Linked DNA regions of Homo sapiens: region 2 is linked to region 1. Evidence: promoter capture Hi-C in human tissues and cell types (Jung and others, 2019). All regions are on one chromosome and are shown on one strand. The core of a region is centred on a gene start or on the middle of the fragment in contact, and the rest is flanking DNA. Distances in the headings are between cores, read along the strand shown.

What was found. The method cuts DNA at HindIII sites, captures the fragments that hold promoters and counts their contacts. A contact is called where the count stands out against the background at its distance.
Region 2: the fragment with the promoter of SLC22A17 here is called in contact with the fragment with the promoter of MYH6 in region 1 in 1 of the 25 tissues and cell types used here (thymus).

Annotation. Positions count from the first base shown.
Region 1 is chr14:23,406,202-23,410,844 of GRCh38, reverse strand. MYH6 (myosin heavy chain 6) reads left to right here and starts at 2,572. Exons shown (of 39, transcript NM_002471.4): 1 at 2,572-2,592; 2 at 3,237-3,269; 3 at 3,609-3,822. The coding sequence starts at 3,622. RefSeq lists enhancers at 3,219-3,719, 1,402-4,643. The HindIII fragment of the contact is 16,944 bases long and covers 824-4,643 here.
Region 2 is chr14:23,350,917-23,355,559 of GRCh38, reverse strand. SLC22A17 (solute carrier family 22 member 17) reads left to right here and starts at 2,673. Exons shown (of 10, transcript NM_016609.7): 1 at 2,673-2,914; 2 at 3,109-3,612; 3 at 3,705-3,808. The coding sequence starts at 2,819. The HindIII fragment of the contact is 16,780 bases long and covers 1-4,643 here.

The DNA.
Region 1 (4,643 bases), core at 1,323-3,822:
GCGGGTGGTGATCCCGAGTGAAGGAAAGAATCCTGGGTCACTTGCAAATGCAAGGAGAGTCAGGAAGGCGCAAGGAGATTGGAGAGGAGGAAGAGCCTGGAGCAAGATGTGGAGGCCCAGGGCGAGAGAAGAGGCCAGCTCGGAGAGGGCAGAGCCTCATGTTAGACCCTGAGCCGGGTGGAGACACGGGCCAGGGAGAATCGGAGGCAGGCCCCACTCTGAGATGGAGAAGCAGGCAGAGGGAATGAAGGTGAGACAGAGACAGATGCAACGGGGAGCCAGGCAGAAGACAGGCAACCTGTGCCAGGGAGGCCAGCCTTGCCTCCTTGGCACCCTCACCTGTGGCCGAAGCCTCCATCCCTGTCCTTATATTCCAGGACTCCCAGCAGAATGAGGAGCTGTGTGCAAGGCAGCTTAGGGAGGACGGAGAGCAATATGTGAGAGCAGGGAGAGAAGGAGCCTGGGGAAGGGAGAGGACGGTACAGCGGAGCAGACGGGCAGGGCCTGGGGCTGAGTGAACACCTTCCTTCCTCCTCCTTCCACAGGAGCGGGGGACTACCCCCCACCACCTCCACTCCCCGCTGCCCTGCCACCACCACCTATACCAAGTGAGGCCTGCTCAGAGCACAGGGTTCCCTGAGGACAAAGCCTGGTCTTTGTCACCTGACCCCGACCCAGACTGACCTGGCGTTCTCAGCTCCTTATCATGTCCCCAGAGCTATGGGAACCAAGCAGTGACGCACTGGCCATGGGCTAACCCCCCGGCTCGAATTCTGGGGCCTCGAGTAACCTAGAGCTGGGGACAGGTGGCCTGCATCCCCTGGGGGTAATGATTTGGCATAAGCACCTGCAGAAGATGGGGATGTGGGGTCAACTAAGGTCCCTCCAAGGACATTGAGAAAAGGTCCAAATGCTCTGGAAAGAGAGGTGTGTTCCTGAGCCCAGGAATGGGGTGGCAGCGTCCTAGGGAGCTAGGGGAGAGGCCACATCTTAATGGAAAGTGCTCCTACCCAGAGAAGCTGACCCCTGTCGTCCTACCCACCTCCACACCCTGGAGCTATATTGAGAGGTGACAGTAAACTGGTGGGAGGGGGGCTGGGAGGGTGTTCCTGGGTGTGAGGGTGGGGGGAAGGCCAGAGCAGGGGAGTCTGGCTTTGTTTCCTGAACACAATGTCCACTTAGTCATAACAGGAACAGCCTGCTGAAGACCTGACACCTACAGCCTCTGAGAGATGGCAGCATTGGAGGATGGGGAGCGGGGCCTTGAGGGCCTAGGGTGCTTGAGGACACCCACAAAGAAGGGAATGTGAGTATAAGCCCTGGAGGGCTTGGAAAGGGGCAACAAAATTCTGCCTGGGGAGGGGGCAGGTGGCAGAGCCCCACCCCGATGGAATGCAGTGCCTGGGGACCAGATGGTGTAAATCCCCAGGCCTGCCAGGCACCTGCACCCTCTGGCAGCCCGGTGAGGCAGAAGGGGACAGCCCCTCACCCACCCCCCTCCTCTCTCAGGCCCTAGGATTAGCACCATCTTCTTCTGCCCACCCCACCCCAGGAGCAGAGGGTAGCAGGGGAGGGCAAAAGCCTATGTGTGCAAATGCGGATGTGCAAATGTGTGCATCCATGTACACAAAAGAAAGTAGAAAAGAAATCTGCAAGCTTGAGTGGGTAAGTGTGAAAAATCTGCATGTGTGGCTGAAGATGGGCACAGACACGGTCAAGTCTGTATGTGAGAGTGCTGAACTGGGGTTCTGTGTGAAAATCTGCCTGAGGCGGCAGGGAGAATCACTGCCATTGCGTGAGCAGGTTGGATGTTGGCCACTCTATCAGGAGCATTAGGGAAGGGGTGGGGACTCCAGACGTGTCCCCAAACCAGGGTGGCCTCAAGACCTTGGGAGAACACTTGTCTGAAGACTTGGGGAACAGAAGGAGACCAGGCATGGCACTTATGCAGACTGAGGCCAGGACAGAATTTCCTGACAAAAGAAAACTGAGCCATGGAGATGGACAACAGATCCCTTCCCTGGGCACCATACTGCAGCTTTTAGTCCCTAGCACTGGGGGCTCCAGTACTAACAGCAGGAAGATGCTCCCAGCCTGGGACTGTGTGAGGGAGGTCAGAATGGGAAGGAGAGGCTGGGGAACAGGGGAGGAAAGCCCATGGTTGGGAGGCGGAGGACAGGCATTTGGCCTGCAGGAGAAGGTGACCCTCACCCATGTTTTCAGTTCACCCTTCGGGTTAAAAATAACTGAGGTAAGGGCCATGGCAGGGTGGGAGAGGCGGTGTGAGAAGGTCCTGTCTTCCCACTATCTGCTCATCAGCCCTTTGAAGGGGAGGAATGTGCCCAAGGACTAAAAAAAGGCCGTGGAGCCAGAGAGGCTGGGGCAGCAGACCTTTCTTGGGCAAATCAGGGGGCCCTGCTGTCCTCCTGTCACCTCCAGAGCCAAAGGATCAAAGGAGGAGGAGCCAGGAGGGGAGAGAGGTGGGAGGGAGGGTCCCTCCGGAAGGACTCCAAATTTAGACAGAGGGTGGGGGAAACGGGATATAAAGGAACTGGAGCTTTGAGGACAGATAGAGAGACTCCTGCGGCCCAGGTAAGAGGAGGTTTGGGGTGGGATGCCCTGCAGCCCGTCCACAGAGCCCCCACCGTGAGGGACCTCCTTCACCAGGAGTGGGGTGCAGGTCAGTTGGAGGCCTAAGGGCTCTATTAAAACTGCCTATCTCCAGGCCCAGGGAAGTTCCCCCTGACACAAGGAGGTTCCACAGGAAACCCAGAAACCTCTTTTCTCCTTCTCTGACTCTCCATTTCTTTCTCTGCATCATTCTGAGTCTCCTACATGTTGTCTCCATCTTTCCATCTTCCTTCCTCCTTTGGATGGCTTCCTTCCCTTGATCCTGGTTTTATCTTGCCTCTTGGTCTTCATCGACACTTGTCACAATCATGCTTCTTTGTCTCTCTCCCTTGTCCTTCCTTCTTGGCACGTGTTCTCACCTCCCTGCCTCTCTGCTTCTAACCCTGTTTCCACACCCCGTCCCTCGCACTCATATTGACTCGGTGCCCTTTCTTTTCTGCCTCTGCGTCTTTCCCTTTCTGACTCCCTGGTCTGTCCTGCCTGTCTGCGCTCTGGGGCTGCCTCCATCCCCGGGTGGCCTGCCTCTGTTGTTCTTCACTCTCCTCATCTGTTCTTCTCTCTGCCCGGCTCTACCTCTGTTGTTCCTTGCTCCACCCACGGTCCAGATTCTTCAGGATTCTCCGTGAAGGGATAACCAGGTGAGAACTGCCCCCATTTTCTCTGCAGAGACTGGGGCATGCTTCTCCTGGGAGCCGGATTGCTGGACCAGGGGTCTGCTGTCCCAAGCACTCAGCGCCAACCCTTAGCATACTCCAGCCAATGCCACCCCAGGGAAACCCCTTACAGAGATTGTCCTTCAGCATCACCTCAGAGGGCAGGAGAAGCAGAGCCCTGAGTAGGGGAGGGTGCAACAGCAGGTGCCTCTCCCAGGGTGGAGGAGAGGAGCGGGGGTAGGGAGGGGGGCTGCAGAGGACAAAGCCACTCGCTGGAGCCTGGGCTCCCTCAGGAGTAACATAGCCCTCCTGTCTCTGACCCAGGGGAAGCACCAAGATGACCGATGCCCAGATGGCTGACTTTGGGGCAGCGGCCCAGTACCTCCGCAAGTCAGAGAAGGAGCGTCTAGAGGCCCAGACCCGGCCCTTTGACATTCGCACTGAGTGCTTCGTGCCCGATGACAAGGAAGAGTTTGTCAAAGCCAAGATTTTGTCCCGGGAGGGAGGCAAGGTCATTGCTGAAACCGAGAATGGGAAGGTGAGTAGGGCATGGCGCCGGGGCAGAAGGGAAGGAGGTCTGGGAAAGAAGATGCAGAGGTGGAGCCACTTGCAGGGGGAGCTGAGAGGGCTGGAGAAAAGCCAAGGCCAGTGGGGATGCCAGGACATGCTCCTTTGAGGAGCCCAGAATCTGATCCCTCTCAAATTGACCTGAGCTGGTGCAACAGGTGCCACCCAGGGCCATGTTCCCCCTGCCAGAGAGGATGCTGAGGAAGAAGAACCTCAGTGTTCGCCTAAGAGGGGTCTTGTAGATAAAGAGGGCACAGACACAGCATTAAATGATGCCCCCTTCTTGCACTTGTATCCCTCTTCCCTGTGCCTCAGTTTCCTCCATGAGTCCACTTTCTCAAATTCCGTTCACCCAAATCAAGAGTAATTCTTAGACCCAGATGAACACAAAGATCAGAAACTTTTGAGCTGAGCACTCTCCTTGACTGGCACTCAGAAGCTCTGGTCCCTGGTTTGCTCACACCAGCCAAGAGAATCACCCCTGGTTACCAGCTGCGGCTCAGGGCTGTGTGCCTCATGAACTCGTTGACTGAATGTTACAACCCATTGAAGTGTAGAATAACAGGCCACAATCCCCTGGGGCTTTTGACTCTGATCCCAGCTCTGCCACCCGCTAGTCACTGTGCAGGCAAATCATTTAGTCATTTAGAGCCACGGATTTCTCCACTATAAAAAACACTGGAATACCTACTGGCAGGATCTAATGACATCAGGGCATGGCAAACTGACTGCTGCCAATCAAACCACACCAACAGTGATGGATGGGGAGTGTGGAGTAGATGGGTGAACTAC
Region 2 (4,643 bases), core at 1,424-3,923, 55 kb after region 1:
ATTAGCCTGGAATTAGAGGTTTCAATTCAAGTCTCTGATCTGCCATGTAGTTGTGCATCCATGGGTAAATCATGCCAGTCCCTCTGAAGTCCTGGTTTCATCTTCAATATTAGCATGATCATAATGGTCTTACAGGGTTATTGTGAGGACCTAACAAGAAAATGCATGTGAACAGCCCCACAATGTATAAATTAAGTGATTATTATTCCAGGACAGACACAAGGATGCAGACGATAAATCCCCAAGGAATATTGGCTATACAGCACCATAGTAAAACCTGAAGAGATGCTGAAATGAGTTGGGAGAGGGGAAGTGGTAGGAGGCTGCTTGATGCATTAGCAAAGAAATGTTTCGGAGGGATGCAGTGACTCGCACCTGTAATCCCAGCACTTCGGGAGGCTGAGGCCGGAGTACGGCTTGAACTCAGGAGTATGAGGCCAGCCTGGGCCACACAGTGAGACCCTGTCTCAACAAAACATCAAAAAATTAGCCAAGTGTGGTGGCACATGCATGTAGTCCCAGCTATTCAGGAGGCTGAGGTAGGAGGATTGCTTGAGCTGGGGAGGTGGAGACTGCAGTGAGCTGTGATCAAGCCACTGCACTCCATCCTGGGTAAGACAGTGAGACCCTGTCTGAAGAAAAGAGTTTCCCATACGTGGAAAATTTCTGAACAGAGACAAGTTAAAAGTGTGGTTCAGTGGAGAGAAGGGGGAAAGATTTCCCGGCTGACAATGATAGAACACTGCTTTCTAGCCCTTACCTAGGATTAGAGAATAAAGTACCTATCAGGTAACAAATCTCTTAGAGATGTGTGTCTCTACCTTTAATGTATAATACCTATGCCTGGAGATCTGGATAAAATACAGATTATGATTCAAGGGTCTGGGTGAGGCTTGGATTCTGCATTTCTAACAAGCTCCCAGGAATGCTGCTGGTCCATGAACCACACTTTGAGTAGCAATTCTAGAGGTTAGGGAAGACTCCTGTGTAGCAAAGATGTTTAGGCTGAGAGCTGAAGGATGAGAAAAATGTGACTAAGAAGCTTTTTAGGTGCAGGAACCAGCTTGTTCAAAGGCCTCGTGGCGCTGGGAAAACTAGAAGAAGGTCTGTGGCTGGAGTGCAGAGAGTTTGGGGAAAGAAGTGAGATGGAACTACAGACAGCATGTGACCAGGCATGTAGAACCATGTATGAGGTATCTAGATTTTTAATATTCACTTTGACAGTGAGGAGACACCACTGAAGGCTGGTTAGCAGGAAAGATACATGATCAGATCTGTATTTTGAAAAGATCATTCTATCTGACTATAAATGACATATGGGTGATAAGGAGGTATAAACAAAGCGGACGCTGAACACCAGTTAGGAATTAGGGAGCTAAAGTGGTCTTTGCAACAGGTAGCTTGACTAATAATGGTAGAGATGGAGAGATGTGGGATGTCTGAGAATATATAGGAAGTAAAATGGGCAGAATTTTGTAAAGAATTCAACATGGATAAGGAAGAGAAAGCTCTAAAGGCTGTTGCCTGAGCATTTGGCCACAATGCGATGTTGAGGGTGCCATTCGCTGCAGAAAAAAGCAGTGGAAGCCAACCAAGTTATGGGGGAAAAGCAAAAATTTCGTCTTGAACATATTGAGTTTGAGGTCCCTGTGAGTCATCCAAGGTGAAGGTCAAATAAGAGGTGGCTTCATAGGTCTGGAGCTCAGAACAGAGGTGGAAGCTGGAGATGTCAGTCTGGGCGTCAGGTTTGTATTGTTTGTATGGGTGGTGATTGAAGCTGTGGGCATAGGTAAGATCCCAAAGTGGAGACAGTGTGAGATGAGAGGAGGGCCTAGGACTAAGTCTGTGAGGATTCCAGACACTGAACCATGGTGTCTAAATGATACAGACGGGAATGGCCCTAGAAGCCAGCACCACAGCCTCATCACTACCAATACAGACCCCTCCTGCAGTTGCGTCACCCCGCTGGACTTCAATCATTGCCTCAAGAACCGGGAGGATAATGGCCTGCCCATGCTCAGCACCAATGCCATGAGCTGGAAGACGATTTCTGCAATGGAGAAAAGGGGAGCAAGAGAGACTCAGCAGCAAAGGAAGAGAGTGTTTAGAGGAAGAGGGGTCAACAGTGCCAAATGCTGTTGAGAAATGGAGATTCAAACAGGATGGGAGTGATGAAACCCAAGAAAGTGGTCTCCTTGTAGAGGACTGAAGCTAGGGCTGATACAGGGCCAAGACAGTCTTCCATATGCATAAGTTGTACTGTAATAGCCAGTTTACATGTCTGTCTCCCTGGAGTAAAGGTCTCCAAAGTGGAACTTGTCCACCCTGTTATCCTTAAAGTCTAGTGCAAGTCCTGGAACGTAGTGGACACTTAAATTTTACTGATTAGTGAATGGGTGAATGAATGAATGAATGAATGATGGCAAATGATTGGAAGCAGAGGAAGAATCTCTGGCATCTGCCTGGACTAGCTACTATCCTTCAGCTTTTTTTCTTTTTTACCGCAATGGCCCGCAGACCCAGGAAAGAGACGACAGAGCCCCCCTTCCCTCCCTCCCCTGGGCCCTGGCCCCCCTTCCTCTCTCTGACGAAGAGTCTGGACCGAAGGTTCTGCTGACGTGGGAAGGGGAGGAGAGTCTAGAGGAAGGGGAGGGGAAAGCAGCGCAGAGATCGCAGAGACCAAGGAGGCGCCCGCGGCTGCAGAGCTGCAGAGCGGGATCTCTTCGAGCTGTCTGTGTCCGGGCAGCCGGCGCGCAACTGAGCCAGAGGACAGCGCATCCTTTCGGCGCGGGCCGGCAGGGCCCCTGCGGTCGGCAAGCTGGCTCCCCGGGTGGCCACCGGGACCCCCGAGCCCAATGGCGGGGGCGGCGGCAAAATCGACAACACTGTAGAGATCACCCCCACCTCCAACGGAGTAAGTGCCCGAGCCCCAGGTGGCGACGCCATCCTCTCCCAGCACCCCCGCCCCCGCGGAGCGTCTGGCATTTTCCTCCTGCGCATCCCTCGCCCCTGACTGCCTTCCTAGCCCTCCCTCCCACCTGCCCCCTGCCCTTGCTCTGCGGTTTCCTCCGCTTCACCCTTCTCCTGCCACCCCCTGCCCCCCAACAGCAGGTCGGGACCCTCGGAGATGCGGTGCCCACGGAGCAGCTGCAGGGTGAGCGGGAGCGCGAGCGGGAGGGGGAGGGAGACGCGGGCGGCGACGGACTGGGCAGCAGCCTGTCGCTGGCCGTGCCCCCAGGCCCCCTCAGCTTTGAGGCGCTGCTCGCCCAGGTGGGGGCGCTGGGCGGCGGCCAGCAGCTGCAGCTCGGCCTCTGCTGCCTGCCGGTGCTCTTCGTGGCTCTGGGCATGGCCTCGGACCCCATCTTCACGCTGGCGCCCCCGCTGCATTGCCACTACGGGGCCTTCCCCCCTAATGCCTCTGGCTGGGAGCAGCCTCCCAATGCCAGCGGCGTCAGCGTCGCCAGCGCTGCCCTAGCAGCCAGCGCCGCCAGCCGTGTCGCCACCAGTACCGACCCCTCGTGCAGCGGCTTCGCCCCGCCGGACTTCAACCATTGCCTCAAGGATTGGGACTATAATGGCCTTCCTGTGCTCACCACCAACGCCATCGGCCAGGTGAGGCGGCCAGGCGGGCCGCGGGTCTGGGGGCGGGCAGAGAGCGGCGAGGGCGGGGCCTCACGCCCGCTGCACCCTTCTCACATCCCCAGTGGGATCTGGTGTGTGACCTGGGCTGGCAGGTGATCCTGGAGCAGATCCTCTTCATCTTGGGCTTTGCCTCCGGCTACCTGTTCCTGGGTTACCCCGCAGACAGGTGAGGGCTGTCGTGGGGGCAGGGCTGGTAGAAAGGAGGGGGTGCTAGGGAAGCTAACCCAAGCAGCGGGCGTTTACAGGAGGTCGAAGACGATTCGCTGGACTCTGCAGTCTTCTCTGGACTTCTATTCAATGGTCTATCCATGTCTCAACTTCACTCTCCATCAAGAAATACCCCTTCCCTACCTCTTCCGCGCAAGGGAATGACTCGACCTCTATGGACTATTAGTCCCATTCCCACTAATTAGTGGCCCCCTATCCGTGAATCAATGGCCTCATCTCCAAAGAGAATAGTCTCATCCCCACTAACAGCCCACATGGACTGTTCGCTCCATCTCAGTGACCTCATTCCTGAAGATCAATATGTTAATTCCTAAACACCAACAGCTCCATTCCCACTGATCAATAGTTCAACTTCACAAACAAATTACCCCATTTCTGACCAGCGACCCCTCCCCTACAAGTCAACTAACTATCTCCAAAGACAATATCCTCAGACCCAGTAACCCACAGTCCCATGCCTGCCACCAAATGACCCAACGCTCTGTAGGGGAATAGCCCATAGATTAGCAGTCATACCCTCATGGATCCTCAGGGCTTTGAGATCCTCTCACCGAAATCCCCGTTTCCATGAGTCGGTAGCTTCACCTCTAGAGATCAACAACCCAATCCCAGCAACCAATAACTCTTCCCACAGATCAAAAATCTCATCTCTGATTCTGGTCACCTTCACCACTGACCAGATGCTCTCACTGCACTAAACTTCCGATTAGACTCAGCCCCATTGATCCACAGTTCCATCCAAGTGGATTAATAACTCAACTTCTGTGGATCAA